Regions from separate parts of the Homo sapiens genome. Here region 2 is linked to region 1. The links are contacts of gene promoters, found by promoter capture Hi-C in blood cells and fetal thymus (Javierre and others, 2016). All regions are on one chromosome and are shown on one strand. The core of a region is centred on a gene start or on the middle of the fragment in contact, and the rest is flanking DNA. Distances in the headings are between cores, read along the strand shown.

The links. The method cuts DNA at HindIII sites, captures the fragments that hold promoters and counts their contacts. A CHiCAGO score of 5 or more calls a contact.
Region 2: a contact is called between a fragment that was not itself captured here and the fragment with the promoter of SLC4A9 in region 1, in 2 of 17 cell types (naive CD8 T cells and naive CD4 T cells). The highest score is 6.2, in naive CD8 T cells.

Annotation. Positions count from the first base shown.
Region 1 is chr5:140,356,139-140,362,735 of GRCh38, forward strand. SLC4A9 (solute carrier family 4 member 9) reads left to right here and starts at 4,056. Exons shown (of 22, transcript NM_031467.3): 1 at 4,056-4,328; 2 at 4,674-4,834; 3 at 5,116-5,229; 4 at 5,670-5,725; 5 at 5,879-6,036; 6 at 6,307-6,394. The coding sequence starts at 4,099. The HindIII fragment of the contact is 10,887 bases long and covers 1-6,597 here.
Region 2 is chr5:140,725,932-140,732,528 of GRCh38, forward strand. It overlaps LOC105378198 (a long non-coding RNA gene), which reads left to right. Exons shown (of 4, transcript XR_001742904.2): 2 at 6,166-6,229. It also overlaps VTRNA1-3. Among named protein-coding and RNA genes, the nearest start is that of ZMAT2, 29 kb to the left of the region's middle. RefSeq lists an enhancer at 13-307. The HindIII fragment of the contact is 9,674 bases long and covers 1-6,597 here.

The sequences.
Region 1 (6,597 bases), core at 2,806-5,305:
GCCGCAACCTCTCTCGGGCTCAAGCGATCCTCCCACCACAACCTCCTGAGTAGCTAGCAGCACATGCGTGTGCCACCATGCCCTGCTAGTTTTCTGTATTTTTTGTAGAGATGGGGTTTTGCCATGTTGCTCAGGGTGGTCTCGACCTCCTGAGCTCAAGTGATCCATCCGCATCAGCCTCCCGAAGTGCTGGGATTACAGGTGTGAGCCACCGTGCCCAGCCAATAAGATTTTTTTGTTTTGTTTTTTTAAAGTGTTAAAAACCTTGTAAGGGGCTGGGTGTGGAGGCTCATGCCTGTAATCCTAGCACTATGGGAAGCCATTGGCTTGCACCCAGGAGTTCGAGACCAGCCTGGGCAACATATGAGCCCCTCTCTACAAAATATTTAAAAGTTAGCCAGACTTGGTGGCACGTGCCTGTAGTCCCAGCTACTTAGGAGGCTGAGGCAGGAGGGTCACTTGAGCCCAGGAGTTTGAGGTTGCAGTGAGCTATGATTGCTACTGCACTCCAGCCTGGATGGCAGAGTAAGACCCTGTGTCAAAAAAAGAAAGGAAGAAAGAAAGAAGGAAAATTTAGATTCAGCAAAGATAAACCTCTTCTCCACTTGCCGAAAGTGAGCAAGCCAAGCATCCTATTCCTGAGGCCACTTCCTCTCACTTAAGGTCCAGTGTACTGCATGAAAGTATGATTTGAACCTTGGAAATAATCTACCCCAACTGTCTCCACTTACATGTAAGAAAATGGAGCCTTGGAGAAGGGAAGGGTCTTACTCAAAGACATCCAATAAGTCTGTGACTAAGCCAGGATGAGAACCCAGTCTTTGAACTCCTAGGTCAGGGTTTTTTCCAGCGCCCACACACAGGGCTGCTCACCCACACAGCACATCTTCCCTGGGCCTTGTCTGGGAGACCACTGGTGCCCACAGGCCAACCCTCACCAGCCTACCCAGCCCAGGGCACTCAGGCCCAGAGGTGGAAGTGAGACCTGGGGAGGGTGGAGGCATGGTGGCCCCCTATTCCAGGCAGCACTGTGAGCCAGGGTAGTTGGGGCCACAGAAAGGGCAAGGATAGACACTCTGAACTTTGGCAGGAGTTGGGTGGGAAGGGAACATGTATGTATGTGCATGTGGGGGAGGTACTCACGCCAAATCCTTGCTCCCATCCCCCTCAGGCTCCTTTGAGTCACTTGTCCGTAAGGTTGGGGCACATTCTTGAAGGGAGTGGTCACAGGGGTTCAAGGCCCATTCAGTCCGCAGGCCAGTTTCTATTCCTCCTGGCACTGAAACCACCTCCTCACTCAGACTCAGCACCCCTCCCCAACTGGAAATATAGTGACATGCTCTTCTAATTCCTGCCCTGGGACCTCCTTGGACCAGACGCGAGGCTGGGGGTAGGGCCGGCCTGGGTGCCCTTTCTCAGGGGATGGATTCTTGGTATTCAATATGTGGGGTGTGGCTGACCTACATTCAGATGAGCCTGATTGGCCCTCCCTTCCCCATCCTGTTGTTCTTCCCCAACCCCCCATCTCTCCGGGCCATTCCGCGGTGGGCCAGGGCAAGGCTGAGGGTTTAGGATCTCTCCCTGCCATCTGGGCATCTCCATCTCTGCGCCCCGGCAGGTCTGCAGCCACTGGGCCTAAGGGAGCGGCCCTAGCAATCCGGTCTGAGGGGAGCAGTGCCCTCGTGTGGCCTCCAGGAGAAGCGCGGCTCTTTTCTCAGCCCGGTCCTTTGTATGCTCTCATTGAACAAGTATTTATTGAGAGCCACTACGTGCCAGGCGCCGCTCTAGGCGCCGCGGCCAAGACAGATACCTGCTCCACGGACTGTGCATTTCAGCGTGTGCGTGCGTGGACAGTCAGGCAATAAATGATAAACAAATACATAAATGAGGCAGTTACTAGTAGTGGTAACTGCTAGGAAGAAAATAAAACAGAGAAATGTGATGGAGAGTGACCCAAGAGAGAAACTTAGGGTAGGATGGGCCGGGCGCGGTGCTCACGCCTGTAATCCCTGCACTTTGGAAGGCCGAGGCGGGTGGATCACGAGTTCAGGAGATCGAGACCATACTGGCTAACACGGTGAAACTCCGTCTCTACCAATACAAAAAAAAAAAAAAAAAAAAGAAAGAAATTAGCCGGACGTGGTGGCGGGCGCCTGTAGTCCCAGCTACTCTGGAGGCTGAGGCAGGAGAATGGCGTGAACACGGGAGGCGGAGCTTGCAGTAAGCCGAGATCATGCCACTGCACTCCAGCCTGGGCAACAGAGCGAGACTCCGTCTCAAAAAAAAAAAAAAAAAAAAAAAAGAAAGAAACTTAGGATAGGATGGAAAAGGAAGATTTCCGTGAGTAGCTAACGTCTGAGATGAGACCTAGGTCACAGATTGTCATGTAAGGATATGGGGGAAAGGCTTTCCTTACAGAGAAAATAGATCCTGCAAAGATCCTCAGGCAGGAACAGGTTTTGCAGAACAGGTGAAGGCCAGTGTGGTTAGAAAGGAGTGAGCGAGGGGAGGCTGGTGTGAGATGCCGTCAGAGAGGTGGGTTGGGGCCAGGGTGTGAATCTTGCAGGCCACGACAAGGAGCTTGATTTTTTTTTCTTCTTCTTCTAGGAGTAATGGGAGTGTGTTGGGTGAGTATTGAACCGAAGAGTAATGTGGCTCAACTGCCTTTTGAAAGGACATGTATGGTGTGGAGGATGGACTTTGGGCAAGGGAGGAAGAGTGGAAGCAGGGGGGTTATTACAAGAGACCAGGAAGCTACTGAAATAATTCAGGTGAGAAATGATGGTTGTTTGAATCAGGGTAGCAGTGCTGGAGGTGGGGAGATGTGGTTGGATTATGGGTATATTTTGAAGATAGAGTCAACAGGATTTGCAAATAATGGACCACATTTTCCTTTGCTCATTTAGCTCCAGGAACTCCTTCACTTACACCCCCTAGTGGGCTCCTCCATCCTCACAGGGCAGATCCCAGGGACACAGCTAAATTAGGGAATTCCTAAGTGTTGTTGGACAAAAGAATTTAAGACTCGTTAGCTGGGCAGCCAGGCACAGTGGCTTACGCTTGTAATCCTAGCACTTTGGGAGGCTGAGGCGGATGGATCACCTGAGGTCAGGAGTTTTTGAGACCAGCCTGGCCAACATGGTGAAACCCTGTCTCTACTAAAAATATAAAAATCAGCCAGGCCTGGTGGCACATGTCTGTAATCTCAGCTACTTGGGAGGCTGAGGCAGGAGAATCACTTGAACCCAAGAGGTGAAGGTTGCAGTGAGCTGAGATCACACCACTGCACTCCAGCCTGGGCGACAGAGCGAGACTCCGTCTCAAAAATAAAATAAAATAAAATAAAAGACTTAGCTGGGCATGGTGGCGTGCACCTGTAGTCCCAACTACCTTGGAGGCTGAGGTGGGAGGATCACTTGAGCTAGGAGGTCAAAGGTGCAGTGAGCTATAACTGTGCCACTACACTCCAGACTGGGTGAGAGAGTGAGACCCTGTCTCAAAAAAAAAGAAAAGAAAAGAATTTAAGACTCAGACACTAGGTCTTCCACCATTATCCCATTTAATGGGCAGGTCCTCTGCCTGCTATCTCCCTTACCCTGTCTGGCTTCCATGGACTCAATTATTTATTAGGTCCCTGTTTGTCCAAATAGGTGTGTCTGTGGCCCCAGGGGTGTGTTGGTGACACCCAAAACAGTCCTGGGTGTTTGGTATTTATATTTGATACAAGTGAGGGGGGCAGCAAAATCTGGGGGTACCAAGTCCTCAGACCCAAGCCAATCATTTACTCCTGTTTCTTTACACAAAACACAGTGGGATCAGACCTGATACCACAGGAAATGCACATACACATTTTGGCCCCAGGTTGGGCATTTCTGGAGAGCCTGGGAAAGGCCAGACTAGTCTTACAAATACTCTTATGCCAGCAGGGGGTGGGGTAAGCAAGTAGGGGAGTAGGTGACCGGTAGAGTCTGGAGTCAGCAGGCCTTGTTCTGTTTGTGTTGTGCTGCAGTGGGGGATGCATTATAAATGCAACCAGCCAGAGGGCCCCTGGCTTCAGAACCTAGGACTGTACTGGTTCTGAGATTCTGTGCAAGCCTCATGGAAATGAAGCTGCCAGGCCAGGAAGGGTTTGAAGCCTCCAGTGCTCCTAGAAATATTCCTTCAGGGGAGCTGGACAGCAACCCTGACCCTGGCACCGGCCCCAGCCCTGATGGCCCCTCAGACACAGAGAGCAAGGAACTGGGAGTACCCAAAGACCCTCTGCTCTTCATTCAGCTGAATGAGCTGCTGGGCTGGCCCCAGGCGCTGGAGTGGAGAGAGACAGGCAGGTAAGTTGGATGCAGGCCAGTTCTGTGGGATCCTTCCCCTTCCCCAGCTGGAGCCTCCTATATGTCCCCCAGCGCTTCTTATGGGGCTGCCCAAAATTAGGATTTTCCCAGCTGTGTTCCCTTATTTCAGGGTCTTACCTTCCATGATGCCCAGCCTCCTCTGCAGTCTAGTTTTGAGATCCCCAAGACCCTAGATGAGGGGTGACTGCCAGGGTGGGGGGGAGACTTCACACCACTGGGCCCAGGATGCCCTCATTGCCTTGCCTTCCCTAGCTCCTCTGCATCTCTGCTCCTGGACATGGGAGAAATGCCCTCAATAACACTGTCTACCCACCTTCATCACAGGTGGGTACTGTTTGAGGAGAAGTTGGAGGTGGCTGCAGGCCGGTGGAGTGCCCCCCACGTGCCCACCCTGGCACTGCCCAGCCTCCAGAAGCTCCGCAGCCTGCTGGCCGAGGGCCTTGTACTGCTGGACTGCCCAGCTCAGAGCCTCCTGGAGCTCGTGGGTAGGCTGGGATCCTTTGCAGGAAGGGCCTGGGTAGCCATGCCTTTTCCCCAGGATTTCCCCTCCAAAGTCTTGAAATCTTCCAGAGCCCATCCCTACCCCTCCTAGGATTGTCTACCCTTGTCACAGGGTGGACATGGAAAAGCAGGGTGGAGGAGCAAGTTCATTGGCCCTGGCATTCTGAGACTCCCAGAAGGGAAAGGTGTCTGGGCAGAGGGAGAAGGGGAAGAGTGTGCGGCAGGGAACTCTCAGGAAGGAGATGACCCCCAATCCATTCTCCAGAGCAGGTGACCAGGGTGGAGTCGCTGAGCCCAGAGCTGAGAGGGCAGTTGCAGGCCTTGCTGCTGCAGAGACCCCAGCATTACAACCAGACCACAGGCACCAGGCCCTGCTGGGGTGAGAGCCCCTCCCTGGGCCCAGGACCAAGACCCTGGTGTGGCAGGGTCTCAGATCTCCCCTGCACCTTCCAGGGCTAGAAGTAGCCCAGGCTTAGTTCAGGCTCCAACCCAGGACTCATGAGCAAGAGGAAACTGGTGGTAATGTTGTGGGGAGAAGATTCAGGGGGCTAGAATCGTAAGAGAGTTCTGTGAAGACATGTACTTGGTAGGCACTAGGCCTACCATTTGATCTTCACAGTATCTCATTTGATCTTCACAACCACCCTGTAAATAGTACCACAATTATCCCCATTTTAGTGGTGAGAAAACTGTGGCTCAGAGTGGAGAAGGGTATACTCTAATTCTTACAGCTTGTCAGTGGCAAAAGTGATTAGGGAATCCTGGTGGATCCACCCCCAAAGCCTGTGGTCTTAATCACTGCATAATCCTGTTTTGTAGGCTCTACTCATCCAAGAAAGGCTTCTGACAATGAGGAAGCCCCCCTGAGGGAACAGGTTTGTGGCCCTTCCTTGGGGTCCCTTTCCAGTGGCTGGGAGAGGGGTTAGAAATTAACAAAAGTCTACTCTCCACTGGATTTCTCATCATTTGAGATCTTATCCTCCCCAAATAACCTTTCATATTCTGTGTCTCCTTGAACCCCCATCCAGTGTCAGAACCCCCTGAGACAGAAGCTACCTCCAGGAGCTGAGGCAGGGACTGTGCTGGCAGGGGAGCTGGGCTTCCTGGCACAGCCACTGGGAGCCTTTGTTCGACTGCGGAACCCTGTGGTACTGGGGTCCCTTACTGAGGTGTCCCTCCCAAGCAGGTGAGGCTACTGAGTGAGTGGGAGTCAGGGATCCCAGAACCTAGAAGGGTCTTTACTGAGGAGGGGAAGGAGGGTCTCAGTCTGATTCTCTGAGGCTGTGGGGAGGATGGTGCTCAGGGGTCTGGGGAGAGAGTAGTGGTCAGGGCTGCATGGTAGGTGTGCAAATGAGTGTGTTTATGGGAGCTGATAGGTCAGAGCTGAGCATCAGAGGCCAGGGCTGCCCTGTGGGAAAGCAGCCTGTGAATCTCTGGGGCCTGGTTCCTTCCTCAGGTTTTTCTGCCTTCTCCTGGGCCCCTGTATGCTGGGAAAGGGCTACCATGAGATGGGACGGGCAGCAGCTGTCCTCCTCAGTGACCCGGTGAGCTGAGCAGGTGTGTGTGTGTGCGCGCGCACGCGTGCATGCCTGTGTGTGTGTGCACACATGCATACATGCATGGGCTCATGTGAGTGTGTGTGTGTGGACTCTGTATGTGTCCCTAAATACAGCAATGAGGCACAGTGAGCACTGAGACTGAAGTTTCCTCGTCTCCTAGTGCAGCCCCATTACTGGATGAGTGCTGG
Region 2 (6,597 bases), core at 2,039-4,538, 370 kb after region 1:
TAAACCGGGGGCACAACCGCGGAAGAGCTCTCCAGGGGTTAGAGGAAGGCTGAGTACTTGTCACTGCTGTATGTCCCCAGATGGACACTCTGCAATTGCCTGGAGATAGCGGCGGATTGGACAGTCCAGGTCGCTGAGTCAAGCTAAAGCACCGTTGTTTTGACTCACTCTTTGTGACGTAGGTCTTTCTCACCAGTCAAGAAAATACAATCCGAAAGCAACCTCTGGGCTGGCTTTAGCTCAGCGGTTACTTCGCGTGTCATCAAACCACCTCTCTGGGTTGTTCGAGACCCGCGGGCGCTCTCCAGCCCTCTTACTGCTGAAGTTCAGCTCACTTTCCATAATAAAAGGATCCAGGGTTTCTTGGAGAAATGGCTGATTTTAGTAGTGGGCAGGAAATATAGAAATGGACACGGAGCACCTCGTAGTGCTAGAAAGCAAGGAAGTGCTTAAAATCCAAACACAACCAAACTCTTAACTTTTAAAGTTTTTTCAGTGTTCAGTAATGTTCACGTGTTTGTTCTAACAGTTACCTGTATATTTGTATCTTCTTGTCCTTTTTGCCTGAGGCCCACAGGAGTTTTTCTTTCAAATCTAATGGATGCTCTAAGATATACCTCAGACTTGATCATTCCATATAATTTTTCCTAGGTTTCCTTTCGATATGTAGACCCAAGTTTCTTTTATTATAGTTTTGAAGATTACATCGGTTCCATTGTTTTATTCTTCTTCAGGGACTGCAATGTATGTTGGATCTTTGCCTCTACACCAACGCCACTTTCTGTCTGATCCTTTGAATGGCTTTTTTTTTTTTCAGATGGAATCTCACTCTGTTGCCCAGGATGGAGTGCAATGGTGCGATCTCCGCTCACTGCAACTTCCATCTCCTTTTTTCAAGCGATTCTCCTGCCTCAGCCTCCTGAGTAGCTGGGACTACAGGCACATGCCACCATACCTGGCTAATTTTTGTATTTTTAGTAAAGACAGGGTTTCACCATAATGGCCAAGCTGGTCTCGAACTCCTGACCTTGTGATCCACCCGCCTCGGCCTCCCGAAGTGCTGGGATTACAGGCGTGAGCCACTGCACCCGGCTGAATTGCTTTCTTTTGATTTTATTTTTATTTTATTGGCTGTGTTAATACCTTTCCTCAATACCAGTTATTATATTTTAAGTAAAAGCTCTTCCTCTTCGAACATCTTATAATTTAGTTTTTTTTTCTGATTTTTTTATTCTTCTATTTCTCCTGCTTTTTTTTTTTTAACAAACTGTTTTCTTAGTTATTTCGTTCTTTGTCCATTTCTGTTCTGAGTTATTTTTCTGATTCATGGCATTTTTTTTCATGTTACCAAATTATTGTTTAAGGTTATTTAATTTTGGCTGGAATATTATGTTTCAGGTTTCTGGTATCATGTTGAGTTTTTTTTTTTTAGAAAATATAGATTTTCACTTAAATTTTTTCTATATAATATGTCTGCAATTTTCTGTGCATTTTGTAATATTTTATTTTCCAGTTTCAGCAACTGCAAATGAGGCAGGAGGTTGGGTGCCTTACCAGCTTTCTTAGTTCAAGAGTGCCCTCTTTTTTTAGAGTGGCGCACTGGCTGATGTCTTCTGATTTTGTGATTCTGTTTCATTTCTGTGGGACTCTTAACTTTCTTTTTCTTTTTCTTTTCGAGACACAGCCTGTCTCTGTCTCCCAGGCTGGAGTGCAGCGGCTCCATCTCTGCTCACAGCAACCTCTGCCTCCTGGGCTCAAGCGATCCTCCTGCCTCAGCCTCCTCCCGAGTAGCTGGGACCACAGGTGCGCACTACCTCGCCTGGCTAAATTTAGTATTTTATTTTATTTTATTTTTGTAGAGATGGGGGTCTCACCATGTTGCCCAGGCTGGTCTCGAGTTCCTGAGCTCAAGAGATCTGCCCACCTCGGCCTCCCATAGTGTTGGGTTTATAGGAGTCAGCGACTGCGCCCAGCCTGGGACTCTTACTCATTGCTTGCTTCGTTTTTCTTCACCATCAAGCCCTGAAGGGGTACCTCCCCTTCAAGTCGCCTCTTTCTTCCTGCCTTTCCTCTTGCCTTTGCAACATTGCCATTGCCAGTCTCAAACAATTTCACCCCCTTTTAAAATCTGTCTCAGTTCTTTCATCTACCAGATCTCGGACGTATTGTCAGTATTTCTCCACTCAAGATGGGACTCTCTTTTTCTGGTGGTGGTTTAGCCTTTCTGTGCCATCTTGGCTTCTCTTCTAGAGCATGGCTCTGTAACTGGATCTGCTGGTTTTGGATGTATATACCTGCTTTTATATAAAATGGGGTTTATAATTTTCTCTGTCTGTAAATTATATTGTAGCCATGGATGGTTTTATTCGTTCTCCTTAGTTTTGTTTGTTTATAGGATGTGTGGAGAGATTCAAATTTAGGTAACTGGTGTTGTTCTATAGGAATCTGGAAGCCAGAACATTTGTTTTTGTTTTCCATAAAAAATTTTAATTGTGGTAAACTACACAGAATATAAAATTTGGCATATGAACCATTTTAAAATGTTCAGCTCAGTGGTGGTAGGTACATTCACACCGTTTTGCAACCATCACCACTATCCATCTCCAGAACTCTTCATCTTTCAAAACTGAAACTCTATACCCATTAACTAATAACTCTCCACCTCCCTCTATCCCTAATCCCTGGCAACTGCCATTCTGCTTTCCGTCTCTATAAATTTGACTACTCTAGGTATCTCATAGAAGTGGAATCATACAGTAGTTGTCTTTTTGTGACTCGTTTATTTCACTTAGCACTATGTTTTATTTTGTTTTGTTTTGTTTTGTTTTGAGATGGAGTCTGGCTCAGTCACCCAGGCTGGAGTGCAGTGGCACAATCTCGGCTTACTGCAACCTCCACCTCCTGGGTTCAAGCGATTCTCCTGCCTGAGCCTCCCAAGTAGCTGGGACTTCAGCCTCCTGCCACCATGTCCTGCTAATTTTTTGTAACTTTACTAGAGACTGGGTTTCACTCTGTTAGCCAGGATGGTGTCGATCTCCTGACCCCATGATTCTCCTGGGATTACAGGCATGAGCCACCGCACCCAGCCAGCACAATGTTCTTAAGGTTCATCCACGTTGTATCATGTACTACAATTTCATTCCTTTTGAAAAAGGATAAATAATATTTTATTGTATGTGAATACTACAATGGAATACTATTAAAATGGAATGTTTTGTTTAGTCATTGTCCATCAATGGACATTTGGGTTGTTTTGACCTCTTGCCTATTATGAACAATGCTGCTATGAACATGAGTGTACAAATATCTGTTTGTGTTTCTGCTTTCAATTCCTTTGGGTATATACCCAGAAGTGGAATTGCTGGGTTATATGGTAATTGTACTTTTAATTATTTAAGTGACTGCTGTACTGTTTTCCATAGCAGCTGTATCACTTTACATTCCCACCAATAGTGCAGAAATGCTTCAATTTCTCCATGTCTTCACTAACACTTATTCTCTCTCTCTCTGTGTGTGTGTGTGTGTGTGTGTGTGTGATTGATAGCAGCTATCCTGAAGGGTGTGAGGTTGTATCTCCTGTGGCAGCTCATTTGATTTTAATCTTTCTTAATCATTAGTGTATTTAAAACTGCAAGTTTACCTTTAAGTACTGCTTTAGTTGTAGTACACAAATTCTTCATGTAGTGTTTCATTCACTTCTAAGTATTTTTTAAGCAGAATCTTATTTAGTAATATGTTATTTAGTTTCCAAACACATGGGATTTTATTTTAGCTATTGTTTTTACAAATGTTAATTCCAGGATGCATTGTAATAGGAGAACATTGTCTGAATGGGATCAGATCTGTGGAATTTATAGCCTAACACATGGTCTATTGTTGTAAGTGTTATATATATATTCAAAAATAATGCCTGTTTATTTTGGGTCTACATATTTTTAAAATTGTTTTTCTTTTCAGCTCATTCATATCCATACTATTTTCAGGTCTATGTGATCTACAGTCCTTAGAGATGCATATTAAAACATTTCCAACTACAATTGGTGATTTATGTATTTTTTCCTATTTGATGTAGTTCAAGACTGTATTGTAGATGCATGTATGCTTATGATGACTGTATCAATTTTCTACTGTTCACTAATTAAACATTTTTAAACTGTGAGATATAACATACATGCAGAAAATTCATGAGGTAAATACATAGATTTAAATAAATGCTTATAAAATGAATCCATATAATCACTACTAAGGTAAGAAAACATTGCCAACATCCCAGAAACCCTCTCTCTCTTTTGATTTTTACAATCCCTTCACTTTCTTTTGGAATTAACCATTCACCTGATTGTTTATCTTATTTATTTTTATTGTATTTAGAGAAGATGGTCTTGCTATGTTGCCCAGGCTGCAGTATAGTAGCCATTCACAGGTATAATCATAGTGGCAACAGCCTTGAATTCCTGGGCTCAAGTGATCCTTTTGCTTCAACCTCTCCAGTGCTGAGACTGTAGGCATGCACCATTGTGCCCAGCCCTGTTTACCTGATTTTTATTTATTTATTAATATTTCTATTACTATTATTATTATTTTTGAGACAGAGTCTTGCTCTTTCACCCAGGCAAGAGTGCAGTGGGGGTATCTCAGCTCACTGCAAGCTCTGCCTCCTGGGCTCAAGTGATTCTCCTCTCTCAGCCTCCTGAGTAGCTAGGATTACAGGCATGTGCCACCATGCCCAGCTAATTTTTGTGTTTTTAGTAGAGACAGCGTTTCAATATTTTGGCCAGGCTTGTCTCGAACTCCTGACCTCAAGTGATCCGCCCACCTCGGCTTCCCAAAGTGCTGGAATTACAGGCGTGAGCCACTGTGCCCGCCCCCTCCATTTACCTGATTTTTATAATAATAATTTTCTCACTCTTCTTTATATCTTTACCACTTATGTATGAATGCCTGGGTGCTATAATTTAGTTTTCCTATTTTGATTACTTTCATAAATATAGTTATATTGAAGTGTTTGTTTTGTTTTGCTTCTTTTGTTCAATAATACATTTGTAAGATTTATCCATTTTGTTTATGTTGTGGGTTACTATTCCATTTAATGAATATAAGATGATTTACTTATTCATTTTAATATTGATGGATATTTGTAGCATTTCTAGTTTTGGTTCATTGTTCATAATAACTGAAACCCAGAAAAAACAGATATTCCCATCTTATACATATGTCCTGCGGCACTTCAGCATATATTTCTCCAGGGTACATACCTAGGAGTCAAACTGCTAAGTATTTAGTGGATTCATGTCTTCAGTTCTATAGTTTTGCCCAGTGGTTTTCCAAAGTATTTCTACCAGCTTACACATCTACCAGCAGTGTATCATGTCCCCAATATTTGGCATTGTACAACTTTAAAAATTTTTGTCAATTTTATGGCTGTAATTTGGTACCTCATTGTATTTTCATGAAAAAAGACAAAATCTTCATTTTAAGTATATAGAATAAATTCACATAATGTATTTTCTTTTTCTTTTTCTTTTTTTTTTTTTTTGGGACGGAGTCTTGCTCTGTCGCCCAGGCTGGAGTGCAGTGGCGCGATCTCGGCTCACTTCAAGCTCTGCCTCCCGGGTTCAAGCCATTCTCCTGCCTCAGCCTCCCCAGCAGCTGGGACTACAGGTGCACACCGCCACGCCCGGCTAATTTTTGTATTTTTAGTAGAGACGGGGTTTCACCGTGTTAGCCAGGATGGTCTTGATCTCCTGACCTCGTGATCTGCCCACCTCGGCCTCCCAAAGTGCTGGGATTAAAGGCGTGAGCCACTGTACCCGGCCCACGTAATGTATTTTCTTATTTAACCTTGAATGCTGAATAGTGTGCGTCTTTTTTTAAAAATACATCTTTAGATAAAATAGTATATTTTCAAAAAAGTACCCAAATCATAAATTTACAGCTCTATGAATTAATACAAAGTAAAGAAAACCATGAAATCACCACATGTCTATAAATAGGACTGTTCCATAAAGCCCTTCTAGAGCCTCCTGTAGTCACTTCTCTCACACTTGTCCTCAGAAGAAAGCCTTGAGGTGATTTCTAATATTACGATTGTTTTGTTTTTTCAACTTTGTATTAATGGAATAATACGTGACTGATTTTCTCATTCCTCCTTATGTTCCCATCCAGGTACTAACCAGGCCTGACCCTACTTAGCTTCCAAGATCAGAGGAGACCGGGCACGTTCAAGATGGTATGGCCAAAGACCCTCATTATGTTTCTAGATTCATCTATTTTGTTGTGCGTAGCAGTTGCTTATTTGCATTGCTGTATGGAAAGTAAGTCAAAAGACTTAATACTTTTGAAAGTAGAAATACTTTCGAAAGCAATTTGGGCTCCTCAATATAGTATAGGTTATGAGAGCTACAACAGTGCTTAGCAAGAGGTTTGGAACATAGAAAGTGTTTATTATACTTCTTTTTTTTTTTTTTTTTTTTTGAGACGGAGTTTTGCTGTTGTTGCCCAGGCTGGAGTGCAGTGGCAGGATCTCGGCTCACTGCAACCTCTGCCTCCTGGGTTCAAGTGATTCTCCTGCCTCAGCCTCCTGAGTGAGTAGCTGGG